Linked DNA regions of Homo sapiens: region 1 is linked to region 2. Evidence: promoter capture Hi-C in 16 types of primary human blood cells and fetal thymus (Javierre and others, 2016). All regions are on one chromosome and are shown on one strand. The core of a region is centred on a gene start or on the middle of the fragment in contact, and the rest is flanking DNA. Distances in the headings are between cores, read along the strand shown. Region 1 overlaps LOC124901056 (a long non-coding RNA gene). Region 2 holds the start of MARCHF3 (membrane associated ring-CH-type finger 3).

Region 1 (3,397 bases), core at 145-2,644, 680 kb after region 2:
TGAATTAATGCTGTTATAGGAAGAGCTTGTGGGAGTAGACTTGCTCTTTGTCCTTCTGCTAAGGGAGGACACAGCATTTCTCCTCTCTGGGGATGCACTATCCAAAGCACCATCTTGGAAGCAGTGAGCAGCCCTCATCAGATGCTGGCCCCTTGATCTTTGTCTTCCCAGCCTCCAGAACTGAGACACTTCTGTTCTTGATACTCAGTCTGGGTATTCTGTGATAGCAGCACAAATGGACTAAGACAGGTTTGTTGGGGCCTTCAGAGTGTGTTCCGCCTGGTCTCTCCCTGCAGTGGCCTCTCTCACTTTTCTTACACGAAGGCCTCAAGTCCAGAAGGCAAGAGCAAAATTGCAAGCTTCTTGAAGCTCAAGCTCAAAAGTCACATAACATCACTTCTGACTTATTCTATCAGTCCAAGCAGTCATGAGTCATCCAACTTAGATTCACATGGTGGGGAAATAATCTATCTCTTGATGGGAGGAGCTAATACAATTTATGACCACTTTAAATTTTTCAGTGTATCTTGGTAGCTGATGAAATGAACTTTTGGTGTCTTCTTATCTGGGTTTGGATTTATAGCTAGAATTCAAATAACCATGTGCTGACAAACCACTCCTTCCTCTTACTAATACCCTGGTAAATATTCCAACACCTCTACTCTTGTTCCTGTTAAATATTTAAAGCCAGGACACTTGAACTCTATCATAGACTTAATCTCACGTAAGTAGAAGAATGTAGGAAAAAGCTTAGATTCTTGGAATATTTTCCAGAGCCACTGAAACTAATATCTTTTAAAAAACTACTGAATGTACTTCAAATGAGTTTTATGAAACTAAAGTTTTTTGTGAATTTGGGCTTTTTTTTTTCAAGGAAGAGAAAAACAATAAAGGGTAATTATATTTTCAGAATATGGTCTCAATGTTTATGGGACCATTTTGATAATTGCTTTAATTAACATCTTCATAACAGAATAAAAACTTCTCTTCAGTGCTAGTATTATGAAATATTGGTAAAAATGTTAGTGCCTTAAATATCAGTTAGCTAGTAACAATAGTAACTTAGAAAGTTTCATAAAGTGGCAGCACTGAAGTATCAAACTTACAAAGTATCAAACTTACAATTTTGTCCTTAAGGTATTCCCTGCATATTTGGGATGTTACCCTCAATCTGGAGAGCTTTTGATAATAATACAAGAAATCATTTTTTTTTTTTTTTGAAAGAGTCTCACTCTGTCACCCAGGCTGGAGTGCAGTGGCACGATCTCGGCTCACTGCAAGCTCTGCCTCCTGGGTTCACGCCATTCTCCTGCCTCAGCCTCCCGAGTAGCTGGGACTACAGGTGCCCACCACCATGCCCAGCTAATTTTTTGTATTTTTAGTAGAGACAGGTTTCACTGTGTTAGCCAGGATGGTCTCGATCTCCTGACCTCGTGATCCGCCCGCCTCGGCCTCCCAAAGTGCTGGGATTACAGGCGTGAGCCACTGCGCCCAGCCAAGATATTGTGTTTTAAAGAGGTAGCAACAGAATGCTAATATTCTTTCCCATGAGGAATGGTTAGGTCATGTATATACAATGTGTGGAAAGCTGTGGCAAAACTTGATCCCTAAGTGGGGTATTGGCTTCAGAACAGTTAGGGCTCTAAAGTCGGAACTGGAGAGGCAAAAAAGAGGTTTTGCTGAAGAGATGAGAACAAAGACAGCCTAAATCAAAACCTTTTTGGAAGGCTGTCTTATTTCCCTTTAAGCCAAGATCCCTGACTCAGTTCTGGGTATTTCTAAGATGGCCTTTCTGATTTATCTGAGAGCTCTCTTTAGTTGTATTTTTGATAAATAATAATTGTACATATTCATGGGGGACAATGTGATGTTTTGATACACTTATTCATTGTAGAATGATCAAATCAGGCAAATTAACATATCCATAGAGCTTTTTACCATTCTACTTCTCTCCTGAAACAGCTGCTTCTTAACAATTGACTTCAGGCTGTTTCCAGAGGTGGTCTTATTTACTTTTTGCTCTTTTGATTAAAGCTTTTATATTCTAACACTGGGATCCATGTATCTCAAAGCGTTTTCCTCAGAATACTTGTTTGCTTAGATGCTCTTGAAACAAAAATTCTATATAGCCATGACAATGCACAAATCATTGACACATGCAAAAACAAAGATGGATCTCACACATATAATGTATGGAAAATAAATCGACATGAAAGTACACACTGAACGAGTCCATTTATGTAAAGCTCAAAACAGGCAAAACTAATCTCTAGTTAAAGCAGGATAGAGGTTGTTTTGGGTGGGGGGTATCTTGAGGAGTGAGCACAAATGGGGCTTTTGTGTGCTGATTATGGTCTGAGCACTGGTTGCTTTGGTAGGCTTGCTTTGTGAAAGTTTATTGAGCTGTACGCTGATTTGAGCACTTCTCTACTTCTTTGTTAAGCTCATTAAGGAGTAGGACAATACAGAACAAATGGTTCTTCTCATTGACTTTCAAGTGAAATATGAGACTGGGTATCTCTAGTGGTTTGTTAAGGAAAGCATTGTTAGGCTGGCAACTTTTTTTTTTTCTGCATCCACTGTATTGTAGTGTTGATTTGGATTTTATTGGGTTTCAGTCTCCAAATAAACCAATAAGGGGTCAAACATCCAACAGATCAGTGGCAATCAGCAACAGAACAAAAACAACAAACAGCAAAGCAAAACACCATCAACACTGCAGTGCTATAGGACTGCATTTGATTGAAAAAAGAATCCTCATGCTCCACTAAGCCAGAAAAAGCTACCAGTATAAGGCATTGTTTCCAAGAAAACTTAAGAGGAAAGTGAAAGCTAAACATTGCTATCACTGAAGCCAATGTTATCTAGACATGTTCTTTATTTTCCCCGGAAATACCATCTAGGATTATGTCACGAGGTATCACTTGGAGAAAAGTTTTCAGCAGGAAAATTGTATATTTCTTAGAAGGGGGTGGGAAAATGGAAGTCATATAGACTGGTAAAAAAAATTAATATTTCATATTTGCCAAAATTCACATTTAAATGTTATATGTTCGTGGCCTTGAAACAGCCAATAGATTTGTCTCTGCCCAGGAGGCTGCACTGGGCAGACGTATTATCTTCCATACAGCAGTGACTGCTCTCACAGTTGGTGTCTCTGCCAGGAGGTTTGTAGACTGTAATAGAAGGTAGGACATGATACCTGAAATCATCATTCTTTTCTATCAGTAGAAAGAGTTGAAATAGGGTCAATGATGCTATCCTTAAGCTATTCCCTGCATATTTGGGATGTTACCCTCAATCTGGAAGTTAGAGGAGGAAAGATTAGCATTTTCAATTTCTGCTGACTTATCAGAGACACAATTGTGATGGGTGAAAATGGAGCTCATCTTTGGGA
Region 2 (3,424 bases), core at 540-3,039:
GAAAAGAAAGAACTTAAATATGGACAATGTTTGCATTACTGAGCAATTTTTCAGGGTCTGCAAAGGGCTATCCCTGCCCTAGTCTCCTGCCCTTCTGACAACCTTCCTATGGACCTTTTCCCATTGAGAAATGGAGCTGAGGAGACAGAATTGAAACTCAAACCAGGCCAGAGCTCACCTAAGAGGGGCCATTTCACTCCTTTTCAGCCACCAGCCCTTTACATTCCTTCTCCCTGGTGACCTCATCAGAACCTTCTCATGAGAGGTCAGCTATGATGCAAGACCTTATAGAGGCCAGATGGCATTGAAATAACACCTTGCAGCTCCCTTACATGTGAATAATTGCCCATACTGAGAGACTAAAACCCTTAGGACTTCTGGGACCTGAATGAGGCAATGGTCTGAAGTGGGCTTGCGCTGGAAGCAAGACGTAAGTGGTGAAGGTGAGTATCAGGGCAGCAGGTTGACCCCTTTCTTGTTATGAGCATGCATTCCTTCATTCTTACTAATACGGGTTAGGTGCCTACCCATGGCAAGAGCAGTTCTAGGCAGGGAGAGGCCCCTACCCACCCACAGCTGACGGTCTAGGGCTTGTTTACATTCTAGGTTTCAGCGGGAAAGCAAGAACACCCAACTCCCTGCTTTTGATTCTATGTTAGTAGCTCAGCGCGCCTGTGCGAGCACGTGCTGCAGCCAGGGTAGGGGCTCAGAAACTGGTTGACAAGATGAGCAGTGGGGTCCTAGGGGGTTGGGCGGGAAGGGCCCACAAGGCCATATTCCAGGCTGTTCGGCTGCGAGTGACCCCTGAGAGGTCGGGATCTCCGAGCTCGTCCGATGTCTCCATCCCAGCCAGGAGCTTGCGAAGGGGAAGGAGGGCGGAAGCAGAGTGGGACAGATGTGGTTCGTTCTGGGGCTTCCTGTCCACGAAGATGGATAATTCTAGCGACCCGCCTGGGATTTTGGAATCCTGGCGGACCCAAAAGACAGCAGAAGTCACCGCAGAGGATGCCACCCCGCACGGCAGCCCGCCCAGAGCGACGGTCTCACAGGTTCCGGCGCCGTCGAGCGCCCAAGCCTCCTGTTGGCCGCCAGCTGTGTCCGCGACGCGCTGGGTCGGGAGGAGGAGACCCGAGGCGCCGGTAAGTCCCCCGCTGCAGGTGGCCCGGAGGGCAGGGGTGAGGACGGGGACGTGTACTGAACTTTGGGAGGTTTGCGGGGCTGGAGTTTTGTTTCAGAGATAGCCAGATCGAGATCAGAACGTTTTCCAGAGAGCCCAGGTTTCCACTTGTGGCTGGGCGACCCGGTCCGGAATTCATCCTTTCTCGGCCCTCAGCTTCCTCCGGGCGGGGTTCCGATGGGGCAGCTAAGTTCCGCGCCTCCTGCCGGTGCCAGATACTGGCGTGTCGACCCGCGCTGCGGTTGGCTTCTTGCTCCACAGCGCTATGCGCGCGGCGGCTCCGAGGGCTCCTGGTCTCTCTCAGCCAACGGCCTTCTGGGGCCGCCGCCTCCCTCTAGAGCTGCTCGGGTCCCATTGCAGAGAGTCCCGCAGCGCCCGCCGGCAGCCACGGCACTTCGCAATAACCAACTTCCCCGCCGCCGGCGCGTCCCGCCAGCCTGCCCTCGGCCGCAGGCGACTGGACGGCGGTTACGGGGCGGTCCCAGCGCCACCACGACTGGCTGTCGGCTCCGCCAGTCATGGGCTGATGACGCCCCGGGGCTGGCTCCGCCCCTAGCGGCAGCCCCGCCTCCCCTCCAGAGCCTGGTCGGCTTAGCCCTGCTTTCCGCCTCACTCGTTGAGCAGGTCCGTGAATTGTCAGCGCGCTGTGGGCGACTGTGTGGCCGCGGCGGCCGCCAGGCTTGCCGCACTCCCCCTGAGGTGCCCGCCGGAACCAATGTGCCCTGGTCCACTGGGCCGTGAGCAGCCACCGACTGGGGGCAACTTGGCACTTAGAACCGCAGCAGGGACGTCGGTTTGCTATCGGGACTCGGCGAGGACGGTGAGTGGCCGCGCGCCGGGCTAGCGGCTCCTCTCGGCGCGGTTCGGCGGCGGCGAGAGGGGACGGGACGCGTCCTGGCGCTCGGCGGTCCGTTCGTCCGAGCGTGACCGCTGTGGGGAGGTCAGGGCTGGGCGGGATTTACTCCGTGCCAATATCCCCACTCCCGAACTTCTTCTTGTCAAAGCATCCCAACTCCGCCCGGGACGCGGTTCCAGTCCGCACCAACTTGGCGTAATTGACATGGGTAGGTGGGGCCGGGACGCGTCCCCTGCCCCTCTGCGGCAACGACATGGAGCGCTGGGGCGGCCTCCGCGCCCGCGGCGTGCGGACCGCGGTTCCTGAAAAATTACCCGCGCTGTGCGGTACGGTAAGACCCGGCGTCCGCGTCTGGATCTCAAGGCTGAGCGAGCGCTCATCGGGCTCAAGGTGGGTCTCAGCGCCAGAGAACTGGAGTACCAGCCGGGTTCTGTAGCGGGGGCTTCAGTGCTCTGCAGCTACTGAGAGGAATTGAGAGCACTGCTGGGCTTTGAACTTTCTAAAGTAATTGCTTTCTATTAGCACTTGAATCCATGACCCTCCTGAGGTGCTCGGACCTCCACATCCACCCGCAAGGGGTGTCCGAAGGACTTCGTTAGGACCAGGCGGGAGCTGCTGTCGGTTCTGGTGCCCAGTGCCTTGGAGAATCCTAGAGGCTGCGAAAGGGATTGCCAGCCTGGTCGGTTGGTGTTTGTTTGAGCACCTGCGTGTTTAAGTGATGAAGTTGAGTCAGGAATTGACAGCAGAGAACTCAAGGTTAAACCTGACACTCCGTTTGTGACTCGGTCTGGGTTAGATTGTTTTCCCCCCTTAATGGTAAGGGGGTAAAAGCAGCTTGTTTTTCTGAGACCAACTACATGCATGTAGTTTATATTATGTGCGGAATAAACAGAATTCAATACGATATTTTCTTACAATTCTTATTTGACATGAATAAGAGCTTTTGAAAATACTAGACAGAAACAGGTCCAGAATTTGGGGATGTTTAGACCTTTGAAAATACATGAAAATGTTGAGATATATAGTTCTGTATGTGTATATGAAGATGTAGATGCGCATATACACACATACATACGTGTATATGTGTGAGTGTGTGTATATATAAAATTAAAAGGTGAATGAGGTAAATATATGAAGGGGAAATTCAGCCTTGAACTTCCCTTGGGTCACAGAGATGGATCCTCTGAGCTGTGGGGTGTTAGTGAGTGTGTATGCGTAAGCATGTCTGCATCTGCCTGGTCTGTCTGGGTCAGAGTATGTCCATGAACTTTACGAGCGTTCAGTTCAATACCACTCAGTGCAGAATCCGCGTTCCTGTTTTACAGCCCAGCAGCCGCCAGCCGGCCCATCTGTTAAAACATAACATGTACACTTCAGTCCGACCACTGGGG

Evidence for each region. The method cuts DNA at HindIII sites, captures the fragments that hold promoters and counts their contacts. A CHiCAGO score of 5 or more calls a contact.
Region 1: a contact is called between a fragment that was not itself captured here and the fragment with the promoter of MARCHF3 in region 2, in 1 of 17 cell types (non-activated CD4 T cells). The highest score is 5.7, in non-activated CD4 T cells.

Annotation. Positions count from the first base shown.
Region 1 is chr5:126,348,470-126,351,866 of GRCh38, reverse strand. All of the region lies in intron 1 of LOC124901056 (a long non-coding RNA gene), which reads left to right. Among named protein-coding and RNA genes, the nearest start is that of GRAMD2B, 73 kb to the left of the region's middle. The HindIII fragment of the contact is 1,285 bases long and covers 752-2,036 here.
Region 2 is chr5:127,028,923-127,032,346 of GRCh38, reverse strand. MARCHF3 (membrane associated ring-CH-type finger 3) reads left to right here and starts at 1,789. Exons shown (of 5, transcript NM_178450.5): 1 at 1,789-1,997. It overlaps LOC105379163 (a long non-coding RNA gene), which reads right to left and starts at 1,004. Exons shown (of 2, transcript XR_007058920.1): 1 at 1-1,004. RefSeq lists an enhancer at 907-1,451 and a silencer at 1,448-1,827. The HindIII fragment of the contact is 7,560 bases long and covers 1-3,424 here.